Linked DNA regions of Homo sapiens: region 2 is linked to region 1. Evidence: promoter capture Hi-C in human tissues and cell types (Jung and others, 2019). All regions are on one chromosome and are shown on one strand. Each heading gives the region's core, a stretch centred on a gene start or on the middle of the fragment in contact. The rest is flanking DNA. Distances are from core to core; before and after follow the strand shown. Region 1 holds the start of NECAB1 (N-terminal EF-hand calcium binding protein 1). Region 2 overlaps LOC124901975 (a long non-coding RNA gene).

The links. The method cuts DNA at HindIII sites, captures the fragments that hold promoters and counts their contacts. A contact is called where the count stands out against the background at its distance.
Region 2: a fragment that was not itself captured here is called in contact with the fragment with the promoter of NECAB1 in region 1 in 4 of the 25 tissues and cell types used here (H1 embryonic stem cells, heart right ventricle, spleen and 1 more).

Annotation. Positions count from the first base shown.
Region 1 is chr8:90,788,148-90,795,794 of GRCh38, forward strand. NECAB1 (N-terminal EF-hand calcium binding protein 1) reads left to right here and starts at 3,628. Exons shown (of 13, transcript NM_022351.5): 1 at 3,628-3,838. The coding sequence starts at 3,740. It overlaps LOC105375633 (a long non-coding RNA gene), which reads right to left and starts at 4,021. Exons shown (of 4, transcript XR_928389.4): 1 at 3,291-4,021. The HindIII fragment of the contact is 16,269 bases long and covers 1-7,647 here.
Region 2 is chr8:90,530,939-90,538,433 of GRCh38, forward strand. It overlaps LOC124901975 (a long non-coding RNA gene), which reads right to left. Exons shown (of 8, transcript XR_007061002.1): 3 at 3,604-3,688. Among named protein-coding and RNA genes, the nearest start is that of LINC01030, 71 kb to the right of the region's middle. RefSeq lists a silencer at 5,803-6,097 and an enhancer at 5,803-6,097. The HindIII fragment of the contact is 7,720 bases long and covers 1-7,495 here.

The DNA of each region.
Region 1 (7,647 bases), core at 2,378-4,877:
GCTGGAATCTGGAATTACATTTCTATTTTTTTTAGGCCCTTGCTACAAAGAAGTTGCATTTCCTCCCTCAAGTCGGTTGTCTGCTGTTTGTGACTGATACTATGCACAGCAGTGAGGCATGTGTGTTTCACGAAAATGTGTGAAAACTGCTTTCAAAAATGCATGCCATCTAGATAAAAAGAAAACTATAAAAATATGTTTGGTTGCCACTTCGTAGAGCCTATTGAATTTGTCTGTGAATGTGAATCTAATTGCCATTTTTTCTACTACAGCCTCTGTGAACATTACATTTCCATTAAAAAGAGAAGTCAGTTACAGCAGAATGTATTCCTGTGTTCACATAGGAATCATAAAAATAAATAATGATCGGTTGATTGCTTAATAATTTATGTTTCTCCTTGATAGACCATTAGAGGAAATAAGCAAATCCACAGGTACAGAAAATGTCATTCATTGTCAGTAAAGTGTTACAAACAGCTTCCTGTAACTGAAGTGTTTGTAACTAAAGTGTTACAAACAGCTTCCTGGTTTTGAATGATGACTGCTGATTATTCTCCTGTTCTTCATTTATAATCAGAGAAAGTCTCCTTTATTAACTATTCTTGTTACCATGGGATTGGCATAAAAATATTATCACTTGTGTGGTTGAATTTGAGGGCTGAGGGACCCGCACAACTTGGGTTAGAGGGGTCAGACTTAAACTGCACTTGTTGCAGAAAAATCTATTCCATTCTTCATCCAATGGCAGGAATAAACAACATGTTATTTTGATAAATTCAGTAACTTGATGTTAATGGTTGACAGCCCCCCTCCTTCTCGTGGTTTTTCTCCTTCAGTGATTTGAATGACCTGTGTCTATCTGATGGGTTGACCAGTATGTTTTTTTTTTAAATGATTTTGTATCTATTTTGATGAACAGTTGTCAAAGAGAAGGGTCTATTCTCACTGTTCAGGTAAGGAAATTTGCAGTTAATTAGGAAAATGCACATAAAGATGTCAGATGAATATTCCTAAAGCACAGCTCCAATCAATATCTCACCCCTGATTAAGTTTAATGTCTCTAACTCTCTACCTAATTAAGTCCAGAGTTCTATCCCCGGGCTTCACAGATTTTCATCCTATAGCCTCTGCCTATTTTCTGAGATTTTATTCTACTTTTTTCCTGTACTGTATGTACAGCACAGTTAAGTTTGGTGATTCTTAATCCTTGCTGCACATCAGAATCACATGGAAATCTTCAAACAAACAAACATTAATCCACTGGGCCCACCGCATACTAATTGAAAGTGAATTTGAGGATGAAGCACAGGCATCAGTTTGGTTTGTGTGTGTGTGTGTTTGTGCAGGGAGGGTTAGCTCCTTATTTTGGTTATCTATTGTTACAAATCCAACCACCTCAACACTTATTTGTATGAAACGGTATACATTTTATTATGTTCCCAATTCTGTGGTCCAACTGTTCTGACACAGCACAGCACTGGTAGTGTGCCTTTACTCCATGATGCCTGGGGTTTTGGCTGGGACAACTCACATGGCTAGGGATGTCTGCAAGAGCTGGGAGCTGGAGTCATTTGCAGGCTTCCTCATTGACATTTCTGCTGCTGAGGCTGGGATAATGCAAAGGCTCTGCTTAGCTATACCTGTAAGCCAGGTGTCTACACTTGCCTTTCCATATACCTTGGGCTTCCTCAAAGCATGGTGGCTTAAGGTAGAAAAACTTCCTATACGGAAGTTCAAGAATCCAGGAGCAAATCCACTGTAAAAAGTGGAATTGCAAAGGCTTTTATGCCCCTACCCTCGGAAAGCACATAGCAACACTTCTGTTCCATTTCATTCATTGTAGCAGTCACAATCTTTCAGATTTAAGGGGAGGGGACCCACTTCTCTATAGGAAGAATGTCAATGAATTTGTGGGCACATTTTAAAGTTACCACACACCCCAGGTGATTCCAATGTACAGGCAGCGTTGAGAACAACTGGATTCATTTTTTTTTTTTGTAAGCACCCATCTACAAAGGAGCAGTGGGACTTGGGTGAAGTGAACAAGACACCTAGGGTGCAAAATTTAAGAAAATCATTCTCAGGATCATGCAAGCACAGGATAGAGATTGAGAGCAAGTGCCTCCTTACATTCTGTGCTCAAGTGGCCCCACTTGCCACACCCTAGTCCTGAGCCTACTACATAGCAACTGTGTATGAATCATTAGGGTGAGGGGGACTTGGATTTCTGGACTAGACAGTACTTTAGTATTGGGATTTGGAAAGCCCAGGTAGGATCTGGGATTCTGTATGTTTATAGGAATCCCCAGTGGACTACTTCCAGCTTCCACGTGCTTTCCTGGTGCCATGCTTTGCTTACGCTGTTCCTTCTGCCTGGAAGTGTTTTCCTTCTATTTCTATCAAGCATGGAGTATCCACTGATTTTTAAGGTCCATTTCATATACCGCTTCTTTCATCAAGCTTTTATTGGTCCCCCCAGCCAGAGTGTAACCTGTCTCTCCTGAGAAACCCCTAGCATGTTTTACATGCCTTTAAGACACTCACATGTTGATCAGCATTTTGGTTGTGTGTGGGCCTGTCTTATAGGAAGAATATGTTTACTTTTCTCCAAAGGCCACAAAATGGAGATCTGGATCCTCCTCACCCGTTCTCACTGGTAGAGGCAGAGTCTTGTTTAGACAAGGTTCCCTCTTTTTTGCCTTATCTCGCTCCCAGATAGCTCAAGTTTGTAACCAACACATACACATTTTAGATGCCCAATAAACTGGATCTCTCTCCTGATGAAAGGTGTGGTCAGTTTCCTATTTTTACAGCCTTCGCAGAAGCCGTCAAATATTGAATAATTACCCTGGTTTAAATGCTTAAACACAGATAAGGACTTCGTCTTGTGACTTTGGGAAACTTCATATTTGAACATTACCTAACAATCCTTGCCCCATAGCAAACGTTTCGAAGCCTACTCTAGGCAGAGTTCATAGCACCGCCTTTGTCAGCAGCACTGCCATAGGTAAGCCTCAGAACCCTCTGGGGTGAGACCGGTGTAACCATTTTACTGATGAGGAAAAGTGAGGCTTACAGGTTAAGTCCTTCGAGCGCAAGATAACACCGAATGGCTTAATCCCTACACCAAACCAGCTGCTCCTCGATTGCTGGTATTCGTGAACCCTGCCCCCGCCTTTGGGGAAGGTCGGGCAGACAGGCCACTGGGACCAAAAGCAGAGTAGGTAGAACCTCTCTGAGTTCCTCCCTATTTATGGCATCCACTCAGGTGAGGCTGGGGGCGTCCTTACCTTGCGCTTTGGCTGCTCAGGACAAACGCCCTGCCATTCGTCCCTTCTCTCTGTCCGGACGCCCTCCTCCATCCCTGCACTTGGGGCCGTCGTGGGGCTGGTAGGGGTCCCCAGGCTATCTCCAGCCGTGGCCGATGGCCGTGCCGGGGGCAGAGCCCGCTCCCCTCCGCGCGTTGCTACGTGCGGGGATGACATGGATCCAGACGCCGTCAACTACGGGAAGGAGGAGGCGAGAGTTGGAGCGCGTGGGAGCGCAGAGGCCGGAGGAGGGAGGGGGGGACACCGAGCGCGGAGAGCGCGGAGAGCGCGGAGGGAGGCGCGCGCGGGAGCGAACACCCTCCCGGATCCAGAGCCCGGCGGCGGCGAAGCAGCAGCTGCGGCCGCGCCCTTGCCAGAGCCGGTGCGTCCGCCTAGCCCCGCTCCGCCTGAGGCCGTCAGGGCTCCCGAGGATGGAAGATTCCCAGGAGACATCGCCGTCCTCCAACAACTCCTCGGAGGAGCTCAGCTCTGCTCTGCACCTGTCCAAGGGCATGTCGATCTTCCTCGACGTAAGTACAGATGGTGGGAGCTGGGCGGTTGCTTCCCAGCACCTTTCTTTTCCCCGAAAGGAAGGGGTTCGGCTCAGGTGCTGACCAGCCAATGCTTTGTCCCCAGAACACAGGCGAGAACTACCGATGCAAATGCAGGAGGAACGACTGTCCCTTAACTTGCAGCTAGGGCTGTCCCAGACCTGCAGCTTGTGGCTTAACACCCTTAAGAAAACTGCAAAAGTTAGATTTTCCAACAGGCTGGGTTTCGTAGAGACACTATTGCAAATACAACAGACAACATTTGAGTGCATAGGACATTTTAAAGAGGCACAAGGTGTGGGGGGTGAGGTGGGGACAGTGTCCCAACTCATCTCTCTAACGCGCCCTATTCGCAGCCTTCACACTCGTGGATGCTCTCAAGCAACCCAGCCAGGGAAGCAGCAGCGATTGAGATGCCCTCGTTATCCTCCCCCAGACCCCCTCGGAAAACAATTACTTTGAGCATATTTGTTTTTCTTTTTACAGCGGTGGGAAATATCATTTTCATAATGATTCTTTTTGTCACTGCCACCTCTTCTATTTTCCCTTTTTCTTCCCTGATATTCTCCTTCTCTCCAAGTTCTAATTACTACTGTCACCTCCATGAATTCTAGCTTTTGACTATTTTCCCTTTGGTCCAATTTCTCACTTCGGTATCGACTGCCTGCCTTCATTACTCTGATCTGATTACATCCTTTCTTTTCCTTCTGTGCTGTTTCTTTTTCCCGTATGGTGTGGTTTCTATCTTTACAGCACTTTTATTTCTTATTTATTTCTCAATTTTGTTTTCCTCTCCTGCCTGCTGTTTCTGTTTTCTCTATTTTTCCGTCTGTTGCCTATCTCTTCTCTCTGCTTTGGGGTTTCTCTCAGCTGCTTGCCGGGCTCCAGGCTCTCCCAGCCCCTCAGTTGTCACATTCATGCTGTTGCCGGAGGTCGTGTCTATCTCAGTGGGGACAATTCTGTCTGCTTCTTGTTTAGGCATGATAGAAAATGTCAAAGGACATGGAGGAGTGCTACGTGCTCTGTCCTTTACCCTTCTCTGAGTTATCTTTTCTTATTAAAGTCAAAATGAGTGGGAGATGGGCCAGAAGCCAGATACATTTGTTTGTGGAGAGATGAAAATATGAGGAAATCAATTAGTATCATAATGGTGAGGCAGAGATAAAGAGGATAGGAGGATGTGAGGCGCTCTCCCAAGTTTATTTTGAATGGATTGGCTAGAATTCTTTTTAATTCTAGGGAAAGAAACTCCTATCAATAATTCAAACTGTTGTAAGGCAAATGATAGAAGTGAGGTTCAACTGTGTGTACTGGCAGCCTTCACCCTTTATCACCTGGTGGCTCCAATTGGTGATCCAGGCATTCTGGGCTGGTCATCTCCTTCCCACCAAATCTCAGGTGTGGTCATTCCTATTCAGCCACCCAATCAGGTGGTTAAGTACCTTATCCTTCATGAGCATTTATCTCTGCCTGGCTTGGGTCAGTCAGATGGTATTATTGGTGCTCATGGCTTAACGGGCTGATCTTATTCAAGTTTTGCTGTTCAGGGCCATAAAGCACTTGAGGAGGTAAGCTGAGAAAAGAGAAGGGCACCACAACATGCCTGAAAAGTCAGGGCCCCTGGAAATCATGTCAGTTATGAGGCTGACAATTAAGGGGCCATGGAGTTGATTCAAAGGGGACAAGTGGGGCCTCCATTCATTCTGACCTGATCTTCACTCTGTCCCCCATTGAGATCAAGTGCTTCCCTGTGCTTTTTAAAAAGCACTTAACAAACCCCGGTGATAGTGTGGAGATGAATGGATTAAAACTACACAAATGGAAAGTCATCCTCCTGACTCATACACCAGCCATTGCTTAAGTGTTCAACTGCAATGTTTTCGAAGAGAAAATTAAAATTTCATTTTTTATTATGTATGCATGATTGTTTCCAAGTCTGTAAACAAATAGCATCAGGTCCCTGTACTAAAGGAACTTGTAGTCTGTGAATAGGGTGGTCTTGCCTTTTATATTTCAGAGATTTAAAAATAAAAATAGGAAACTGATTCCCTATGAGAGGTGTTGACATGCTTGTTTGTCGGTAAAATGCTAGAGTCTACAAAAAAAACCTGCCATTGGATTTTGTGTCAAATGGAAAAGATTTTGTTTACACTTTTCTTTGAGTTATTTTGTGAAAAATCTAACACTGGTGAAATATGTGATATGAAAAATGATTTGTTACTTAGGGATTTGTGAATTATTCATTTCTGGATCATACCACTTTTAGCAAAATAAAATATAAAATATACATGCATCACTTTATTTATTTGATTTAATATATTCTATGGCACTAGCAAGAAAGATTACTTTTAAAATTATCTTCATATTATAATACATAGGTGATAGATATTACCTGTTCCAAACTGGAACAGGTAATTTTCTGTGTGTCTTCTGTATCAAACAGACAATTTCCAAATTTGAGGAAAACTTTGATTTGCAGTGCTTTTTATTGCAATGTCACTGGAATAATCAATCATTTAAGAAATGATGTAAACTGCTACTGAGAACACTATTAATGACATGATACATGACCAGCTGGTTGGAAACTAGAGACAGATTTTAACAAGAAAATCAGAGATAGATTTGCCACAACTGTTGGCTTTTCCTTCAGTATCCTCTCCAAATCAGCAATAGTAATCACTATGATACTTCCTTAGGCTGTTGTGAGTATGAAATAAGGGAAAATGGAAACAAAGCAAAAAGTATTGCATAAATTTGAAGTATTATGGTTATTTCAGTGCTGCACACTGAGTGTATTAAATAACAGTAACAGTAGCTAAATCCACAAACTGATGCAGGGACTATTTCTTCATGAATCTAATTTATAGAATTGTCTTGCTAGAATATGACAGAATTAAGTATCGGTTCATCATAAATACTCTTGAATACTGATGGGAGGCTTAGAAAACCTAGCACTGGTGCCAAGGTATGCCAGTGCATTGAGGCTGGAGCAAGCATTTGCATATGGCATGCCTGCCAGCCACAGGAGAGGGACTCAACTGGGTCCTGGCAACACATAGGACCACAGGGATTACTATTGCTTTTCCTTTTACACCAATGGACTATCATTTCCCCAGTTGCTGCAATCCAGTTAACAGAAGAGGAACTCTAGTTTGGAATACTAGTCTATGTAGCATGTGTCTCCTCTTTTGAGTCATTACATTAATCAACTCCGCTACTGTGAAAAGGGAGAAAAACAAACCTTCAACTCATCCCCAAAAGCAAGAGAAATTCCCAAACGAAATTAGTAGCAACTTCATCCACCCAATGCCACTTTCCTTTCCCATCAGTTTTCCTTTGATTTTTAACTGGAAGGGAAGTGACTGTTCCCCACTTCACTGCTAAAGAGGGAAAGAGGCTGGAAAGTTGTGAGGGGGATGAATGACTTTACTGCTTGTCTTCCCTTCCTTCCTTCGTCTAAGCATGCACACTCATGTACACTCTGAATGCAAGATACAGAGCATAGATGGTCAGGAACTTGGTGAAAACAAGAAATAGTTTCTTTTCACAAGGACACTTAATTCTGAAGCCCCATATATGCTCATTTGTATGATGTGTGAGATGCACAGAGGAATGTCGAAGCCGAATGAGTCTTCCAGATGCAATGGTTCTGTGACTGAACTCTGTTATAGCCACACACCTCCCATCTCACCTCATCTCTCTCACACACACACACACACACACACACACACACACTTGCTCATTTGAGTGAGATTGTCCAGTTCAGAGGATGGCAGTTAACCCCATCA
Region 2 (7,495 bases), core at 2,467-4,966, 260 kb before region 1:
TTCTGTCTGGCATACTGTAAGTACTCAGTAAATGTTAGCCATTCCTGTTGAGTGTTAATCAGATCCTAGATCCTATACTAAGTCCTTTTCCAACATTAATATGATCCACAGGGTGAGCCTATTACATTATTTTAGATGGAGACAATTAAATTCAAAGAGCCTGGGTTATTGATCAACATTACACAAACAGAGATGGAGGAAAGATTCCAGCCCAACTCTGACTGATGCAGAGTCCAAGATCTGAGCAAGTATGCTCTCCTGCAGTGTTGTGTGAGGTGCTGATAATGACATAGAGAAATCACCAAGTTCCCCATATGTTAAGTAAGAAGTATTAGGTTGGTGCGAAAGTAATTGTGGTTTTTGCCATTAAAAGCAATGGCAAATTACTATAGAATAACTCTGTGCTACTGGATCTATTATATTCCCCCACTGCCTTGAGGTGGGGTTCACAGGGTAATGCTAGGTAGCTTCAGCCAGTTTCTTCTGGAAAACAAATTGATCCCTTACTTACTCTTTGCTTACCGACTTAACCCAAAATTCTCTGAAAAAAAATAGAAATTTCTTTCTCTGTGTCTAGAATATTTATGCCATAACCACTACATATATTTGGCTATACTTCAGATAAAGATACAGATTCGTGCACTGCAATTTTTCTTGATGAGTGGAAACAAAATATTTTCCTCCCAATATTTAAATGTATCAAAACATAGGATCCAGGTAGATACAACCCAGCCAGTTTCTTCCCTGCAGCCTTCAACTTTTAGCACAAATGCCAAAGAGCAAGCTAGAAAATTAGAGAAAATCCAATTCACCCTACAGAAATTGGTTCTGGAAAGAGATGACCAATAATCAGATGGTGCTTAACTACCAAGCATTTTGTACAACTAAGAAGTGGATAAGCTGCTTTCTCTCAAAAAATCCGGGTCTGAAGCAAAATATCCAATATTTATAATGCCCACATGCAGTAGCTACTTCAGAGCTATCACCTGAATGAAAGCTAGAAATTCTGATTCTTCACCTAGAAATGATTGCTACAGGCAAAACACTAGGAAATGGGAAATGGATATTTCACTGTGGACAACTTTAGACTGTGTACTCAGTTAACTGTGTATCTCCCTCTGGAAGCTTCCTTCAATCCCCAGGTCTGGCCTCAACAGCCACATTTATACCCTGTGACCCTATGTCTCTGGAAATGGTAGTTTGATCCAACAGTGGACCAATAAAACTGGGTCAATCAGAGCCATACACGTAGGAACTGGTCTACAAATGCAACTGGACCATTGACATGCAAATACAGGAATTGTGGGATGGCCAGATGTGGTTAGGGGGCATCTTCTATTTCTATTTCCTGGAACTTGGTTTCTATTCCTTGAAACAAAGAAGGCTGGCTCTTAGACAGATGGGTGATGAAAGCAGTGATTGAAGGTTAGAGAAGAGACACAAGGAGATCAAGCTACCTCTTGGGGACCTCTTTCCAGCAGAATGCCCATTCATGGACCAAACAGGAAAAATGCAAGACAGATCCATTGATGGACCTGTTAAGAGTTAAAGTATAAAAGCCAGTCATTAAATCCATTGATCATGCCCTGTAACTTACATATATGTTAAATGTATTCTTTGGTATATATCAAATATTTGTTAGTTTATTTAAAAAATTAAAAATTAAATATTCCACTTCTTCTAGTAAATAGTCTTTTTTGCTCTTACAAACGTGACCCACTATTTAAAATGATATTCTTGAGGTATGAGCTGTGTAGTATATATATGGGCTTTAGAAACTGAATCTTATTTTATATGCACAGGAAATACTTCATTGAATGAATCCAGGCATAAAAAATTTAGCCCAATTACCACAATTCAGTATTGTTAAGCTATCAAAGCAAGTCATGTAATTTTCATCAGTTTTATGCATATTCAAGAATATACAATAACAGTAGGAAATACCCATTTCTACAGTGAACTAATTAGAGAGAAAAATTCTGTTTGAATTCATCAACTGGGAATTTTTTTTAGATTAATTATTGATGAATTGTTCATCAGGTGCACATAAGACCACAGTGATAAGATTTATCTTAAATTTCAAAAGTGCTTTATTTACAGTAGCTCTAAATGATGAATCATATTACAAGTAAGATTCTGTTGGGGATAGTTTTTTCTTAACTATACTCGAAATATTGATCCATAGTAAACTTGGTGACATTATTTATCCCTCATGAATTTGTTCAGAAAATTATACAGCACTTACTAGTTATCCAAGCAAAGAAAAATATAGAATAAAACCTCCTGAGAAAACACTGGAGGAAGGGAGATGGAAAGAGGTAAATTAATTAAAGAATCTATTTCAATTCTTCATTTTATGTTGAGTATTAATGTAGATATAACTCAATATTAAGTACCATTCTTATGTATATCTGAAGTTTATAGCTAGGTATATTTCATTATTTTATAAGCAGTATGTATCACTATTTTAAATTTATTGCAACAAACAGCAATTCCTTCTTTACTTATTGTTTTCTTTTTTCTTCTTTTCAATTTCTCCAAATTTCCTTTACTCATAAGTTTAGAAAGTAGATAAGGCATTGAAGATATTTACAGGAAAATTGTGTCCACCCCTACTTCAGATTATAATATACTTGAGAAAACAACTGGGTCCCTTGAAGGACTGAATAAGCACTAGGGATGGAATGAACTCATTAGAAGTCAGAGACAGCCTACAAGATTACAGCCACAGGGTCCCAGGCTGGGAACCTTGGATAACTTCAGCTAACATGAAACTAACTTTCTATTCCCTGGAAGTTGCTGAAAGCTTAGATGTTTTGTACGTTGTTTTGGCTTTTTCAAAAGAGTAGTTGAGCTTACAAACCTTAAATAATGCCACGAAGTGTGAATCTTCAAATGCTAGAAATGATGAAATACAGTCATGTGTCACTTAATAACTGGTACACATTCTGAGAAATGCATCCTGAGGCGATTTCATTGGTATATAAATATCATACAGTGCACTTACACAAACCTAGATGGTGCAGCCTACAATACACTGAGACTATACAGTTATAGCCCATGATTTCTAGGCAACAAATTCATGCAGCATGTTACTCTATTGAATACCATAAGGCAGTGGCAACACAATGAAAGTATTTGTGTAACTAAACATGTGTAAGCAGAAAAGGGACAATAAAAATGCAGTGTTATAATCTTACAGGACTGCCGTCATGTATGCAGTCTGCCATTAATGGAAATGTCATTATGTGGAACACAACTGTAAAAACAAACCATCTGAAAAATGTTGAGTGAATTCCAATGGAATCGCTCATAGCCTGCTCCCACATGTATTACATCAAATTGTTTTAGGTATTTACCTTAAAACTATTGAAGATCTGTTAGAACATGGAGAATTTGTTTGCTATTATATCATTTCCTTTTCTTCTCTTCTTCGGTATGTATTAGAGTGACAGAAAAGAAGTATAATCATCGAGAAAACTTGGAACATGCATGAACTATTGTTTTGACCATTTTACCATGGGTGAGGTATGGTGGCTATGGTGAGGCCAGATGCAGGTCAAGAGAGAAAAAGCACGGTTTTTATAGTTTTGTTATACTCACAGTTTCCTAGGGAGAACACTATACAGGGCCACTCAGGGGTTGGTCAAGAAGCAGAGGCAGGAAGAACAACTTTTAATTGTGGTTTCTGCAGGAAGAAACAGACAAGGCATGGTAAACAGGTTTAGAATTGGCTACTTTGAATACTATCAGCAGGTTCTGGGGCACAGGGGCTGTCCCTGGTTATCTGGTACCTGGCCCTGGGGTGATTGGAGCTCATTGATAGTGACCCAAATTAGAAAAGACCAAGAAGGGAGGTGGTTGGAGTTTTGGATTTAATCAGCTTCTCTAGAAGAAAAACTGACTAGCCTCAAGCCAGGATCTCCAAACTGAGTTAGGACAGTGCTTATAAAAACCGTACTGCACCTATACAACACATACACATAGAAGTAAATAGAAAAGCCTCAGGCTGCTACAATCAGAGAAGATGTCTCTTAAGAAAGACCGTGAGGCTGTTATTCCACCAATGTCAGAGTAAATGCAGGCAGGTTTTAATGTACAAGTTCCTTATGGATCAAATAGAGGGTGTAATGTTATTCTCCTGAAACATTGCTGCAAATTGGTAGAGATACAAAGGGCGAAAAAGGGGTTATCAACCAGAATTTCCAAAAATACAATTTTGTACAGTATATAAGCAAAAGCAAGTGCTTTTAGTGATTCACTTCACAAGCAATTTCTTTAAAATCTAACCATTGAGCAACTGCAGGAAGAGAAACTGAGGAATCCTCTACAAGAGATATTTAGAAATTTAATCCATAGAAACAAGCATTGCAGCACGGACTGGCATGGGAGAAGGTCAGTGAGACAGAGGGAAAAAAGTGGATCAATGAACAAAGACAGCTGAAGACCCAGTTACAGACCCAATTACTAAAACCACCCCATAGTCCCACCTGCTGAGGGGTTTTACCACTCCCATAGGAGGACGTCAGGAAGTTTATGACAGAATTCCACTAAATTCATTTGCAATCCCTTGCTTAGATCTTCATTTTGTTGTTGTTTCCTGCATAGCAACTTCATACAATTCTTATCCCAGAGGGTGGTTTGATTATTCTTGACTTTTTATTTTGTTGTAATCATAAGTAATTTTTATTTTGTTAAAGATAAAAGTCTACTCAGAATTTCAGTACCCAGAATAAGCAGACCAACTGACATGCAATCCCTTAAATTAAGGAAACTGACTTTCGTAGTCAGGGCATTCCTCCTGTTTCCCATGGATCACTCATAGACCCAATGCTCAGTTGTTAGGAATGTACATGGTACCAGTAACTGTGAGAAATACTTGTGTGAAAGTAAGATGCAATAGATTCATTCTGCCTTATACTGTTTTCATTACTCTTAACAAAATCTTAAGCTGCTCCAGAATGATCTTCAATTCATCAAGGTCAAAGATAACTTACTTTTTTCAGGCCCTTGGCCATAGGATCGAGGTAATGACACCCAATCCCAAGGGCAGCATGTCTGAAAATGTAGAAAAGCTGATGTAGCTGGTCCCCAACCCAGACCAATTCAGAATACCTGTGGATAAGCATGGGGCTCTGCCTTATAACAAGCTCATCTGGCGACATATTGCATTTGCAAAGAGAGCTCCTGCCCTCCAGCCTGAAGAAATGTTATGGCTCTTTTTGTTGTTTCTGAGCTGTCCCCTCCCAACACAGACTCAGGCTTTTTAGTATAAAAGGAAAAGGAAAAGGAAAGAAAGGAGGGGTTCAACTCTGTCACTACCCATTAGTGGCAAGTGTAACAAGAGTTAAGACTTCGCAGTAATTTACTCAATGACACAGAACATGGTAGCCTGATGGGTAAAAACTTTTACCAAAATATACTCCTGAAATAAGGATCTGTCCAATATGCATTTGTTTCAAAGAGTCTCATGCCTGAACGTTTCTTTTAGATTTGAGTCTTCTTTATCCAGATGGTATTTGATTGACTTGAAGTTCTTCTCATCTTTCACTGTGTCACTTTTTCTGGAGGATCACTCACTTACACATATTAAGTGTGTTCTTTATTCCATCAACATAATAGTTTTCTTTTCTCAAATTTGATGTGATATAACAGAAAATGAACTGGGCTAAGGAGACCCAGAATCTAGGCTTGCTTCTGTTCTTGAGTGCCTATGTCCAGTTAATTGAGTGAATTAACCTCAATTCTTTCTACTACTCAGTTTTCCCATACACAAAATAGGGGAATTGGACTTGAAGTACCTTACAACTCTGAGATTTAGCAAGTGAGTAAATGTCTAGTAGTCCTTAGAAAGTACAACACTGACTTCCTGAACTTTCCCTTCTGGGTGAGGAAAATTTGGGCATAAATTCAAAAAATGTGTTTTATGTCCCGATGGATGATTAAATCAACCCTGCCTGCATTTCTAGGATGACTCAGTTCCGCCTTACCTCCAGTACTGTTTTGTTCTCATGTGCTCCAAAGAAGTCAGTAAACCCAGAATATCAGGTCTCATAAGCCAAAGACAACCTATAAATGAAGGCCAGAATTATCCCCTCTCTACTCTTGCAGCCAATCCAGGTGAAACCAGAGATTTTGTGTCTGATAGCCCAGCAAATATTAGAATGTCTCCTTGGCTATGAAATCACAAACTAAAAAATACTTAATTTCTGCGGCCTCATCAGCCATACCAGCTAACTGGAGTCCCCTGAGGCTTTCCTCCCCAACCCGTCTCTTTCATTATACAGAAAGAGAAGGCAGGTGAGAAGTGACAGATGTCACCCTGCAAATATTCAGAATCTCCTGCTTTTAAATTTGGAGGACAGTACTAAGCAGTGTTTAGGACTATTTTACCATAATCTGTGAACCATTTAAAATATATAACTGAATTATTATTATTATTGTTAATTAAATTCATATACCTAGATGCCAGAAAAGCCTCCACAATTTTTCATTTGATACTTATTAGAATTATATGATCTAGATGGAAAGGGCCTCAGGTGCTAGGGTGAGAAGAGCTCAGCCCAGGGGTCAGAAGACATGGTCTGCTACTCTTCAATCAACTGCTGGGACGTTGGGCAGGACATAAGTTTTTTGAGCTTCCTCATGAGCAAAGCAAGAGGGTTGACTAGATGACCCCTAAGATCATTCTGGAGCTGAAGTTCCACGAAACTATGAGATCTACTAGTTTACAAAGGCGGGAATTGAAGCCTAACAGGGTTGATTGAATTGCCTAAGGTCAACACAAAGCTGGACTTCAAGTGTCCTGACCTTTGGTCCATTTTTTTTTCAATTAATCCAACTAATCCAATTCCATGATTATATAAGAGTCCAGCAAACAAGGGGATTAAGGCTTGAAGAACAATTTATTTCTATATTATATGACTAACTGGTGGTAGGGTAAAGGTAGGAACAGAACTATTTTGCTTTTCAGTCCACAGATGTTGCCTCTAATGAATAGAGGTCAGCATTGACTAGAGAGAAAAAAGCTCATAAGTAGGATAGATGTAAGAGCACAACTGATAGAGGAATGACCAATAAATTAGTTAGGAAAACAAGTGGAAACAATTTTTCTATAATTGGCTAGTGGTCATACAAAGAGTGAATACAGGAGATGGATTAAAAAAGATCAATGTCATTAAACAGCATAGATACTAAACTGAGGTAACTTTTAGTTTATTATAAACTCTCCTTTAATCCAATTTCCCATTATAAGCATGCTTGTGAACTTGTTCAGTTCATAGAAACATTAATGCTAGAGATAAGACTAAAATAAATATAATCCCTAATTTCTATTTCAGTGTCTGACGGAGTCTTCAGATAGATGGTACACTACTACACACCATTATATTCATTACATAAATGGATTTCACAATGATTTATTCTCGGCTCCATCCTCTTACCTGCAAGTCATTTAGATATTGAAATGATACAATTGCTACCTCCAGTTTATTTC